2 separate regions of the Homo sapiens genome follow, and region 2 is linked to region 1. The links are contacts of gene promoters, found by promoter capture Hi-C in blood cells and fetal thymus (Javierre and others, 2016). All regions are on one chromosome and are shown on one strand. Each heading gives the region's core, a stretch centred on a gene start or on the middle of the fragment in contact. The rest is flanking DNA. Distances are from core to core; before and after follow the strand shown.

Evidence for each region. Contacts are between HindIII fragments. The CHiCAGO score rates a contact against its expected background, and 5 or more counts as called.
Region 2: a contact is called between the fragment with the promoter of AVPR2 here and the fragment with the promoter of HCFC1-AS1 in region 1, in 1 of 17 cell types (monocytes). The highest score is 5.6, in monocytes.

The regions. Positions count from the first base shown.
Region 1 is chrX:153,967,482-153,970,397 of GRCh38, reverse strand. HCFC1-AS1 (HCFC1 antisense RNA 1) reads right to left here and starts at 1,633. Exons shown (of 3, transcript NR_046608.3): 1 at 1,328-1,633; 2 at 1,027-1,199; 3 at 307-613. The region is part of intron 1 of HCFC1 (host cell factor C1); the gene reads left to right. RefSeq lists an enhancer at 1-209 and a silencer at 996-1,174. The HindIII fragment of the contact is 6,911 bases long and covers 1-2,123 here.
Region 2 is chrX:153,902,800-153,905,922 of GRCh38, reverse strand. AVPR2 (arginine vasopressin receptor 2) reads right to left here and starts at 1,250. Exons shown (of 4, transcript NM_000054.7): 1 at 1,152-1,250; 2 at 753-949; 3 at 1-391. The coding sequence starts at 777. The HindIII fragment of the contact is 5,945 bases long and covers 1-3,123 here.

The sequences.
Region 1 (2,916 bases), core at 384-2,883:
TGTGCCGGGCTTCAGTGCTTTTCTCTGATCTTCTCCCCGTTCCCTTGTCTCTCCCGTGTTTGAGGATTGGTTTTCGTTAGTTAAAAGAAAGCCCCTAGTCCGACTGGTGAGGGAGAGGGGCTGTCGCCAGCGGTGGTGACTTCAGACCCACACCGTTACCCAGCGGGCTGGGGCTGGGGCTGGGGCGGGCGGATGTGTCCCCTTGGCGCAGGCAGAGCTCCCCTCCCTCCCTCCCTCCCTTCTCCTGCGCCTGCTCAGCTCTCCCTCATCTCGAGTGCCCATTCTGGAGAAATGACCATTTCTAGATTACAGATTCGTTCTCTGTCTCTCGAAAAAGGGAGGGAAGGGAAGCGCTCTTAGGACGCAGAGTTTAACATCCGCCGACCCGGGTAATGCCGGAGCCTTGGGGACCCCTAGGACGGGCCGGCGGCAGGGCCGCCTCTCCCTTTCCACGTTTACTTCTGCAGCATTTCTTTCCAAGTCGCCCCTTCTCCTAATCTGGTGCCTTCTGGTTTACAAGCTGAATTCCAGTTACCCCTCAGCGGCCTGCGTAGTCGTGTGTCTCCCCGCTTCTGCGGATCCAGGGGGTTACCCCACCCGCTCTTCTGCCTCCCTGCAAAACCCAAAGCCCGTTAGTTGGGAAGGGGAGGAACCTCTCTCTTCAGGTATGGCTGATGCACCACGGCCTTCGTGGGGGCCGTTTGTTGTTGCCTCTGCCTAGTAGCCTTGCTTAGTCTCTAGGGCAGAAAGCCTGCTGCTGTCCACGACAGCTTTGTGGCATCCTTTTTCTTGGTGGCTACTTGGCCCGTTTTGTGCCCCTAGCACAAGGGTCAGTTCCCAAGTTGCCTACTGACTGCCCGTTGGCCCACAGGACCCTGGCCTTGCCCAGAAGGCAGGGTCAGGGTGAGTTCGGTCCCAGGCAAGAGCTGGAAGAGTCTGGGTGAGGGAAAAGCCCCCTGCAGGCGGCTGGGGGAGGGCCTTGGGATGCCCTAGTCCTGAGTGGCAGGCACGGCTCCCAGCACTAACCCCTTGCTCCGCGGCCGTTCTCTCCTGGGGGCTCTAGCGATCCCCTGGCCTCGGTGGTGGCCCTGCAGACAAACCCTCGCTGAGTGGGCTTTGTGTCCTGAGCGGTGAGAGGCTGCTGTTCTTTGGCTGAGCTCCAGTGCCTCGATGCTCTGGGGGTGGGAAGCTGGAGCTGCCTGGAGGGAGAAAGTTGGTTTAGGGAGTTGGGAAGGCTGGAGCTGGGCTCTTGGGTGCCGCTTCCTTCCCCACCCCCCAAGGCAGAAAGTGCTGGTTTCTCCACATCTCGGAGATTATCGCCACCTACCACGTTGACTTTGAAAGGCTGGTGGGTTGTCTGTGACCGTTTTTCGTTCCAGGTCTCTCAGCACCTGTTGCCTCCAGGGAGCAGGGCCTTTCTCAGCAGCCCCCGGGCGGGGGCGCTTGGTGGTTGGTGGTGCCCCGCGCCAGCCCAGGCAGCTGCAGTAGCAGGAATTAGCTCAGTAAGCTAAGGCTTCTCCAGTGGTGGGGCTGTTTATAGAGGCACCGTCACCATGAGCAGCACCTTCTCCACTCTGTGGACCGACTTTCTTCTCATAAGGCCTGGAGCAGGCTCCCTGGCAGGGAAATGCAATTTTAGAAAGTAGGGCAGGGGCCTAATTACAGTCGGCTCCAGAGTCCACCACCACTGCTGCCTTGGCTTCCTGGGGCCTCTGCATATTCATTAGTTTATTAAAATGAATTGACCACTTTGGCATGAATTCATTACCAGTCTGCAAAGACAGGTTGTGCATTAGAGGGGTAGCCTGCCTTCCAAAGGGCTGCTTAAAATGAAGCTCTGGGATCCTCCAGGGTAGCAGTTTGGAAACTGTCATCGGCAATTCCTCAGACGAGAGAGCAGCTGGCAGACCTGAAGCCCTCTTCCTCACCGGGGTTTCTGCCCCCTCCCGCCAGCCCGGCCTCGTCACCTTTGTCTTGTCTTCTTTTGTTGTGTTTGGGATGAGATCAGGGCATATTCTCACGCCTGTGCCCCTTGCAGTTCTGCGGGATCAGTCCTCAAAAAGCCTTGTACCTTTGGAGAGAGCTGATCTGGAAGGGGTTCCCGTTGCTAGGATAAGAAAGCTTCAGGGGGTGTGTGCTTTGAGAGCTCTTAGGGTAGCTACTGTGCTTGTCCTTAGGGAATTTTAGTTCCATGTGGCAAGCCAAAGGATTCAGAGTGCTGCCAGGTGTGGGGGGTGGGGGAGCGAGAGCTTTGGCTACGGTGGCTCTGTAATGTCCATAGGTTCTTGGAGCTGGAGGGAGCCTTGGAAAATACCTAGTGGAACTACTTCCTTGTTTCTGCAGATGAGGAAATTGGGGTCCAAGAGGGGAAGTGACAGGTCCAGGGTCGCCCTCCCAGCTGGTGGCGGAGTTGGGCGGGAGTGCAAACCTTCATAGAGGCCGTTCTGCCACCTGTCTTTGGGGCCCATCACCTTTGAAATGCCTCCATTCTCTCCTCTGTCCCTGTATCTAATTGTTCATTGCGTTGGGCAGGCATCAAATGTGTCCCCTTCCACACCAAGCCCTCCTCTCCTCTTACTAGACTCTTGCAGTCACTTCCTGATTGGCCCTGCTAGTTTCATTTGTCGGGAAATCCTGTTCACCCTTCAAGGCCCGGCTGAAACGTCACCTCTTCTGAGAAGCCCTTTCCACTCCTGTCCTCCCCTCTCCAGCAGTCGCACTGCTCTGTGCTCCCAAGGGCCCGGCTTGGTCAGAGCTCTTCTAGGGTGTTTGTCTCATCGTGGGAGGGGGGCATGCAGCCTTCCTACCCCATTGGGAGTATGAGCACAAGATCGGTGTCCTCTGTGCCTCCCAGCACGTCGTATGCCACACAGGAAATGCTCTAATGTGACAGGTAGAACAGAGAGGAAGGCAGCT
Region 2 (3,123 bases), core at 1-2,500, 64 kb after region 1:
CGGTGGCGGTCCAGCGTCATGGCCAGGATCATGTAGGAGGAGGCATACATGCCCACCATCTGCAGATACTTCACGGCCCGACACAGGGCATCTGGCCCACGGAAGCGGTCGGTGGCCTTCCAGGCCAGCTGGGGCAGCACTTGGAACAGAGCCACGGCCAGGTCGGCCAGGCACAAGTGGCCAATGAAGACGTGTATGGGTGCCCAGTGGCCCCGCCGGCCCCGCCGAGCTAGGGCCGCCAGCACCAGGCCATTGCTCAGGGCCACAGCCACAAAGACTATGGAGAGCAGCGCCAGCTCCGCCCGGGCTAGCAGCGGGTCCCGGGTGTCCAGTGGCCTCTCCTGGCTGCTGTTGCTGGGCAGGCTGGGCAGAGAGGGATGCCCAGGCACAGCTGGGAAGGAGTCGGGAAGAGGGCCTGGTTAGAGAGGGTGCTGTGCAGGGGGACTCAGGCCTGCCTCCCGTGCCCCCATCCGGACACCCACTTCCTGGCTCCTAGCAGAGGGGACTCCAGGAAAGCCATGTTATGAGGGATACACACCCCAGGCTCATGCAGTCCAGAAGGAAGGGCAGCCCCAGCCCCAGCCCCAGCCCCAGCCCTGGCGGGGAAGTGGGGCTGTGCTCCCCTCCCCACTCATTGGCAGCCTGGAGAGACACACCCAGAGGTGAGGGTGAAGGAGGTCTTTAGAAAGAGGGGCTTCCCTGAATCGTCAAACCCACTCTGCCCACCGGACTCATGGAGGGGCAAGCCTTACCGGAAGTGGTGGACGCCATGAGCATGGTGGGGCTGGGGCAGGTGTTCTGAGGGCCTGGAGGTGATGTGCGGACTCAGCCTCTGCCTGAGGAGCAAGTTCAATGGCCCAGGGTCTCTGGACTGGAGCCCTTATAGAGATGCCAGCATGGCAGATGCCTGTTGGCGTGTGTGCACGTGTCGGTGGCAGTATGGCCAGTCCTGGGCAGGGAAGATTGAGAGGGATGGTCAGACAGACGGATGCACAGAACCCAGGATCCCCCAGGCAGCCCATGAGTCCCGGGTTTGGGAGTGGGCACCCCAGACAGACACGCAGAACTCCCCTGCCCCAACCGAGGCCGAGAGAGGCCACCATCCGAGGGCTGGGGACTGGGCAGGGGGGCAGGCAGGCGCAGCCCCTTACCTGGCTGGGCTCCTGGGCAGCTGGGCGGTGGCGTGAAGGTGGCTGGGTGCTCAGATCTGCTCTCCATCGGCTGCCCTGCCCTGGCCCAGCCCAGCCTCTGGGAGTGACCTGGCCAGGAGGGGACTTCCTCCCCCTCCCCCTTTCCCCCAGGCCTCCCCTGGCCTCCTGTTTCCCTTCCTTTCCCCAGGGCCTCCCTGGTCCCGGCCCAGGACTCCCTCCTCCCACTGCCATAGCCTCCACGCCCACCCTCACCCTACCACGCCCCCCTGGTTGGATTGTCTGGGTTGGCAGTGCTCTGGGAGGTCACTTAGTTCAGCATTCCCATTTTATAAGTGGGGAAACTGAGGCCAGAGAGCGGTGGGTCTGGCCCAGGACTGCGCTGCTTTTTCATGGGAGCTTCACGCCCCCTTCCCAAGTTGGGGTCCTCCTGCTCCTCGCTGGGCCCAGGCAAGGAAGGGGTGAAAACACTTTCGCTGGGCCCCTCCCAGGCCCACGCAGGCCCCTCCTCCTCCCCAGTTAGGGCCCAGTTGGCCGGAGACGAGGGACAGGAAAGGGAGGAGTGGGGCAGGGGCCAAGCCAGGCTTCACGAACCCCTGTGAGATCCAGGGACACCCCCACCCTCTTCCTCCTGCCCCACCTGCAACTACCTGTCCTAGGAAGAGGGGCTGGGGACCTCCGTGTGCTCACGGGCTCCCTCCCACCACACACAACCTCACATGATACAGCCACACAGCCACAAACACACAACACAGAGACGCTCGCTCATGTTCTTGAACATACCATGAGTATGGACGCACCTTCCCTGTACCTGAGCCCTCCTCCTCCCTCCCCCAACACCTCTCTCCTTCCCCTGTCCCCACACCCCCTCCAGCCCCCATCCCAGTAGTTCTCTTTCCACTCCCCCCGCACCCAGGCCTGGCTTGGCTCAGCCGAGGCCAGCCCAGCCCAGCCCAGCCCAAGGCAGCTGCTTTCTTCCTGTTTGTCTGTCTTCTCTGTTGCCTGTGAAGCCAGAGACCAAAACAGCCTCACGGACCAGGCCCAAGTCCGGCCCGCGGCCAAGGCCTCCTCTTCCTGCCCAGAGAGCCTGGCAGCACCCTGGCCCCTCCCGGCCCTGTTAGGGTGGTGGGAACACAGGGTGGGCATTTTCCAGAGACAGCGCACACACCACACCACATACATACATGCACACAGCCACACGCCACACACACATGCACCCACCACACACCCATACGCCACACCACACACACACCACACCATGCACACATATATTACACACCACACACATGCACACATCACACACTCCCATACGCCACACACCCACACATGTACCCACCACACAGCCATACACACCACATACGCACAGCCAACACCACACACGCACACACCCGCAGCACACACAGGTGCACATCACACCCCGCATCTTTGCCATGTTTTTGCAGAGCCCCTTGGGGGCAGGCTGCAGAGTGCTGGCACCCCAGGCCTGACGCTTCAGCTGCATCTCCTCAGCGCATGCACATCCTCATGCTGTCCCCAATAACCGCATGCTGTCACTAATCTAGGAGCATAGAAAAGGCCTTCCTAATGCCACCCAGATCAGTGGAATAGGAGATGGCTTCCCTCAACTGGCAGAGAATTTGGGGACCCTGGCTGGGGAATAGGAAAGCAAGGCTCCAGCCCCTGCTTGGCCCCTGCCCAGTAGTGTGACCTTGAACAGGCCACGCCAGCTCTTGGCACCTCAGCTTCCCCTTCTGTGCAATGGGACTTGATGATTGAGGGAGACTACGGTGGTAAGATGGGCAGGGGTGGGGACTGGCAGGGCCTTGGGAAAGCCTTTGTTCCCTCCGTCTAAAGCCGGCTAGGGCGAGGAATCCATGCTAACCTTTTGGGGTGAGCAGACAACCATCTCCTTATCAGTTTCTCTGCCTGAACGAGGCTGTGCAGTGCCGGATCTCAGCAGCAGGTTGGGACCTCC